2 separate regions of the Homo sapiens genome follow, and region 1 is linked to region 2. Evidence: promoter capture Hi-C in 16 types of primary human blood cells and fetal thymus (Javierre and others, 2016). All regions are on one chromosome and are shown on one strand. The core of a region is centred on a gene start or on the middle of the fragment in contact, and the rest is flanking DNA. Distances in the headings are between cores, read along the strand shown. Region 1 overlaps CD300A (CD300a molecule). Region 2 holds the start of CD300LD (CD300 molecule like family member d).

The links. Contacts are between HindIII fragments. The CHiCAGO score rates a contact against its expected background, and 5 or more counts as called.
Region 1: a contact is called between a fragment that was not itself captured here and the fragment with the promoter of CD300LD in region 2, in 1 of 17 cell types (monocytes). The highest score is 6.0, in monocytes.

Annotation. Positions count from the first base shown.
Region 1 is chr17:74,477,841-74,481,257 of GRCh38, forward strand. All of the region lies in intron 4 of CD300A (CD300a molecule), which reads left to right. Among named protein-coding and RNA genes, the nearest start is that of CD300A, 13 kb to the left of the region's middle. RefSeq lists enhancers at 1,096-1,175, 1,186-1,235. The HindIII fragment of the contact is 1,051 bases long and covers 780-1,830 here.
Region 2 is chr17:74,590,489-74,593,559 of GRCh38, forward strand. It overlaps CD300LD (CD300 molecule like family member d), which reads right to left and starts at 1,795. Exons shown (of 4, transcript NM_001115152.2): 1 at 1,675-1,795. The coding sequence starts at 1,714. It overlaps CD300LD-AS1 (CD300LD antisense RNA 1), which reads left to right. Exons shown (of 3, transcript NR_171003.1): 2 at 31-257; 3 at 1,496-3,071. RefSeq lists an enhancer at 1,699-1,828. The HindIII fragment of the contact is 5,067 bases long and covers 1,235-3,071 here.

The DNA of each region.
Region 1 (3,417 bases), core at 55-2,554, 110 kb before region 2:
ATCTGTAGTTCCAGCTACTCAGGAGGCTGAGATGGGAGGATTGCTTGATCCCAGGAATTCAAGACCAGCCTGCGCAACACAACAAGGCTCCCGTGTCTATAAGATAAAATAAACCCTTGCATGGTCTCCCCCACCATAAAAAGTCCAGGTATCTACAGGAGTCACTGCCCTCCACGATCTGGCTCTACCCACCTCCCTCTCCCCATCCGCGCACCCTGGAAACCAACTTCTTGTATCTCCTTTAATGACAGCCTCAACCTCAGCCTCTCCTCTCCTTCTGGGTTTGCTCTGGGCTGGAGGGCCTCCCCTGCCCCCTCTCCCCAGCTCACTCCCAGTGGACTCCAACAGTGGTCCTCAGACTTTCTTTTCTCTGGGACCTTTTCTTTGACTCCAAAGAGTGGCTTGGGGCCCCTCCTGGCTATACCTCTGCTGTCACAGCCTTTTGGGAACCAGACTGTCATTGCTGGTGTCCTCATCTGCCTTCCCACAGGCATGTGCTTCAAGGAGGTACAGAACCAATATTTGTCAAATTAATGTGTTATTCAGTATCTCCAGCTGCAACGGGCACCCCAGGGGCCTCCAGGCAATCTCTAGTCCAGCTGCCCTCCTCTGAGCTCAGATTAAAAGAGAGAACAGGAACTCTTGGCACTCAGTAAGTAGATGCTCAATAAATAGCTGATAGGCAAATTGAATAAGCACAGGAACAGAGGAACAAGTGGAGGTGTGGCCACCAGTCCTCTAGATTGCAGATCCCTGGCCGAGGTCAAGTGTAAGCCTGAAGCTTCCTCCCTGTTCGGAGAGTTGAAGATTCCACAGGCAGAAGATTCTCAGGGGAATCTTTGTCCAAAGCCTTCCAAGACTGCAGTGAGACTGGGGTGGGAAGAGATGGGGTTATCCTGTCCCATAGCTGCAGGATAAGCTGCTGCATGCTTGGTGGGGGGCACTGCTCACACATATCCCCAGTGCCTCCTGTGGCGCCCAGGCTTTTGGCGGAGAAATCAGCCTCAGTAGATCTGTGCAGGGTGTATGGGAAGAAAACCACTTCCTCTTTCCCATCTGCTTTGTGTGTGTCATTTTCTGGTAATCCCATCCTAAACTTCAGCACCCACGTGGATGCCACTGGGTTGTCTCAGTTCTGAGCCCCTTTCGGTTTCCTTTGTGCCCTTTCACCCAGAAAGTCTCTGGCTCCTCAAAGAGCCTCCTCCCCCCTTGAAAAGGATGTATGTGATTATTGTAGGAAGTTTGAAAAATGAGCAAAAGCACAAAGAAGGAAATAAATCCCCCATCATCGATGATAACTAAAAACCCCACCACCTAGAGAAAACCAGCCACTGGCCCCTGAGGTATATCCTTCCAGTCTTTTTTTCTATGCCTATGTAAATGCATCTATGATTTCTTTTTTTTTCTCTTTTTTGAGACAGAGTCTCACTCTGTCACCCAGGCTGGCGTGCAGTGGCATGATCTTGGCTCACTCCAGCCTCGACCCCCCACTGCCCGGGGCTCCAGTGATCCTCCTGCCTTAGCCTCCCAAATAGCTGGGACTACAGGTGCTCACCACCACGTCTGGCTAATGGTTAAATTTTTTTTTTTAAGAGATGGGGTTTCACTATGTTGCCCAGCCTGGTCTTGAACTCCTGAGCTCAAGCCCAGAGTGCTGGGATTACAGATGTGAGCCACCACACCCAGTCATGCATCTGCGATGTCTTAACAAATTGGCCTCATACCACTCATTCTCTTTTAAACCTACATTTTTGCACTTAACATATGGTACCATGTTCCCAGCTAGTAAATGTTCTAAAAATCACAGACGCAGAGTTTACTGGTGTCTTAAGCTTCCTGTAACCCATCCTCAGTAACAAGATAAAGGCTTTCTATTCAAACATTTTTGACTCTCTGTCCCCTGCTTTGCAAGTCCGTGCCCCATCCCCTGACTGTGTGGCTGGGGCTGACTTCCCCTTGCCCTGCCTGGAGCCTGACACCTGCCTCATCACACCTACTCCCCACTCTTTCCCCCAGCCCACATTTGTCGTTCATTCATTCGTACAACAAAGCTGTCCTGAGCACCTACTGTGTGCCAGGCCTGTGCTGGGCCCTGGGGACAACATTGTGACTGGGGTAGACTGGGTCTTACCTTCAGTGAGCTTCCCCTACCGCTGGCTCCCCCAAACCTTCTCACTACCACCCTCCTTCCCGGGCGTTGAACTCCTGTCTCTTCCCCACCAGCTCTTTTTCTCCTTCCCATCAGAACACTTGTCCCAGGTGGGGACAGGGAGGGCAGTGTGGTGCCTGCGCACAGCACTTGGAAGCAGGGCACTTCGCACCCCAGAGTACCCGGCTGCGCACTCCATTAGGTCAGCTGTGGCTCAGCAAGCCCGTCACTATACGTGGTCTTGTGTCTCCCAACCGTGGGCTCCTCCCCTTTAATTCTGGGGGAGGAGCCCACAGATCCCCACAGCATCCAGTGCAGTGGGCTCTGGGGTTGCCTGGCTGTGGACCTAACCAAGGGCATCAGCAGCGTGTGTGTCACCCGCTGCCCACGTGGTCCGGGCTCCTGGGGTGAAAGGGTTAGGGTGTACAGGGCTGTGCTCATAGGCAGCACCCTTATAGAGCAGGTGCCAGCAGCCAAGGGCTGTGTGAGCCTGAGCTGGCGTCCCTGGGGCTGACAGGCCTCCTTCCCTACGGCCTGGGGCAGCAGGCAGGTGGGCTGTCTGGGAGGGCAGACCTCAGGCACGGGGATGGGAGCAGAGGCCCCAGCAACTTCCCACAGTCTGATGCAGCCCTAAGCCCCAGATGCACAGGGCTTTTCAGTGGCATCCTTCCTCCCCTGGAAACATTTGTGTGAGATCCCGTGTTGAGAGCTTGTTTTGGTCCCTCTCCTCCAGCTGGGAGCTTTCTTTCCTTTCTTTCTTTCTTTTTTTCGTTTTTGAGACAGAGTCTTGCTCTGTTGCCCAGGCTGGAGTGCAGTGGCATGATCTCAGCTCACTGCAACCTCCGTCTCCCAGGTTCAAGCGATTCTCCTGTCTCAGCCTCCCAAGTAGCTGGGACTACAGGGCGTGTGCCACCATGCCCAGCTAATATTTGTATTTTTAGTAGAGACAGGGTTTCACCCTATTGGCCCGGCTGGTCTCGAACTCCTGACCTCAAGTGATCTGCCCTCCTCGGCTTCCCAAAGCACTGGGATTACAGGCGTGAGCCACCGCACCCGGCCCAGCTGGAATCTTTCTATTTCTCCATTTATTCACTCATCCTGTGCTCGTTCATTCATTTACTAAGTCACTAATTCACTCACTCAACAAACCCTTGAGTTCCTACCATGCTTCAGGCCTGAAGGGATAGGTCCCCAGGGCTGAGGTCTCTAGGGAAAGGCCTTTTCCCAGAAGGCTTGTAAGGTCCTCCATCCTGGCCATTGTTCCGGGA
Region 2 (3,071 bases), core at 545-3,044:
AGACTTCATTGGAATGTCTTGAAAAACCAGGGTCACCATGGTGGGAGCGGAAGACAATTTCACCATAAACAGGCAGAGCTCCACAACCCAAGGAATTCCTGGAACAGAAATTGGACTCCATGCCCAAATCTGCTTTCTATGGCATCTGAAGGGAACTAAGAAACTACACACGACCTCCTGGGGAAAGATGGGTATAGGGGCTTCATTTGTTCACTCTGAAAAAAGTTCTACATCAGAATGGAAAGACAACAATTAAGGTAAATATTTAAAGAAAAACTACATCTGGAAGTTATTTATAAGAAATAAGAGCTGGGTGTGGTAGCTCACACTTGTAATATAACAACTTTGGGAGGCTGAGGCAGGAGAATCGCGTGAGCCCTGGAGCTTGAGAGCAGCCCTGGCAACATAGCGAGACTAAATAAATAAATAAATATTAGCTGGGTGTCGCACCACATGCCTGTAGTCCCAGCTACTCACTCAGGAGGCTGAGGTGGGAGGATGGCTTGAGCCTGGGAGGTCAAGGCTGCAGTGAACCCTGATCCCAGCACTGTACTCCAGATTGGGTGACAGAGCACACCCTGTCTCAGAAGGAAGGAAAGGAAGGAGAATATATCTGAAAATTGTTTACAGAATATAAATTTGAAGCCAGGCATGGTGGCTCACACCTATAATCCCAGCACTTTGGGAGGCCAAAGTGGGAGGATCACTTGAGCCCAGGAGTTTGAGACCAGCCTGGGCATGAAAGTGAGTCCTCATCTCTACAAAAAAAAAAAAAATAAAAATAATAATAATAATAATAATAATCTATTTTAAAAGAAAATAAATTTGAGATTGGAAGGAAAAATTTTCTTACAAAGCTTGATCTGAGTATAGATAATATGAGAAGCACATAGATTTGTTACATTTTAACAGAAATGAAAACACTACGTATCAAAATTTGTTGACATGACAGCCAAAGCTGTACTCAAATATAAATCCTTGGGAAAAAGGTTTGATGCTTCCTCAAAAAGTTAAACATAGAATTAACATAGGATTCAGCCATTTTACCCCTAGATATATACCCAAGAGAACTGAAAACATATCTCCATACAAAACTGTGCTATGAAAGTTCATAACATTATTACTAACAATTTTTAAAAGGTAGAAACAACCCTAAGGTTCATTGACAAATGACTGGAGAAACCAAATGTGGTATATCCACTGTGAAATACTATGCAGCCATGAAAAAGAATGAAGCTTTGATTTGTGCTACAACACAAAGTAACCTTGAAACATCATGCTAAGTGAAAGAAGCACTCCAGCCTGGGTGACAGAGCGAGACACCAGCTCAAAAAAAAAAAAAAAAAAAAGTTCTTCAAGAATGGACTCACTCATTAGTTCCTTCCTTCATTGATATCTGTTCATTCATCTGTTTATATGGAACAGTCAGGGTTGAGAACCACTGTTCCAACAAGAAGCTATACTTGTTTTGTTTTGTGTGTGTTTGTTTCTGCAGCATCTAACACAGAACCTGTCAGATAACAAAAACTTGATTGCTATTTAATGAATATGGGCATGGATGGATGAATTGGCGCTGTCATTTTCCCTGACATGTCTCCTTCCTGAGAACAGAGCGTCTCTGTCTCCAAGCCAGCCGCTGTCATTCCAGTGCCTTAAAGCTCCAGCCACACTCACCTGGGAGGATGAGAAGCAGCAGAGATGGGGACAGCCACATGGTCCTGTCTCCTCTCCTCTCCTTGGTGATCACAGGTGTCTGGTGCCCTTCAGGGACTTGAATCCAAGCTCGGAAGTCAACACCGCAAACCTACTCGAATCTCCTTCAAGTCTCTTGCTCACTTCCTGTTACATCTGTAGCTACTTCTCTTTTTACATATTAGGAGAAAAGAGGTGTCATTCTTTGAAAAGACTAAGGTACAGTGTATGTTGCAAGGTGTGCCCAAACTTTTGTGCATGTGGAAAAGAAAATGTGTCCGGGACTGGTCAGGTTTGCACGGGAGTGCACGTAGGAGCCAAGGAGCAGGAGGAGCCAGGAGGAACCCAAGCATTGAGGAGCTGCGGGATCTACTGCCTGGAGGAGAGGACGGACAAGGCCAGCCATGAGGAGTGCAGGGAGAGGAGCACTTTGGGAAGACCACAGTGCACAGGACTCACACCCAGCCTTGCTGGAGAAAGCCCATGCCCCAGGCTTCTTCCAGGCAGCCCCACTGTAAGACATCTCATTGCCTCTTCCTGCCCTGGGCTGTCTGACCCACTGCCCCTTCCCCCAGGAACACTTCCACTGGGATCATGAGTCACTCTGAAGCCACTCTGAAATCACTCTGAAGCCAAAGCTGGGCTCAGTGGGGAAGGTCAGGAATGGAGAAATTGCCTTTTCTCGTTAGCCTCCTCTTGCCCTGATTTCATCCTCCCTATCCCTGCACACTTTCCCCTGGCTGCTGTTGTAATCTACTTGTTCTGCTGACGCCCGAACTGACTTCTTTCCCGGTCTCTCCCCACTTTCTTTAGATGGTCCCTTCCCTCTTTCTCTCCCTTTCCCTCCTGAATCGATTCATTTTTTCTCTCCTGTTTTATATTTTCCATATCTGTGGGCTTTGTTCTACATTTGGGGAGCTTTTTATATTGTTTATTTCATGCTTGTACTTTCCCTTCCAATCCTTGGATCAAATATTGATTTTAGAGACTGTATTTTTATTTCGAAAAGTTTTTTTGGTTCTTTGATTACTGATGTTTTCAAACTCTCTTCTGTTCCTTGAACTATATCCCTCCACTCAGTGGTCACATCTTTGTTTTGTTGTCTGCTTCTTCTATATTATGAGCCTTCCTCAAGTGTCTGCTGATTCTTGGTTATCCAATCATAGTTGAGAACAAGATAAAGTGTAGCTAACTGAGACCTCAGAGTATGTAGGAGTAAATAGTATATAAAATAGCTCTGGTGGCTCATGCCTGTAATCCAGCACTTTGGGAGGCCAAGGCGGACAGACCACCTGAGGTCAGGAGTTCGAAACCAGCCTGGCCAACATGGAGAAACCCCATCTCTACTAAAAATACAAAAATTAGCCAGGTGGTGGCAC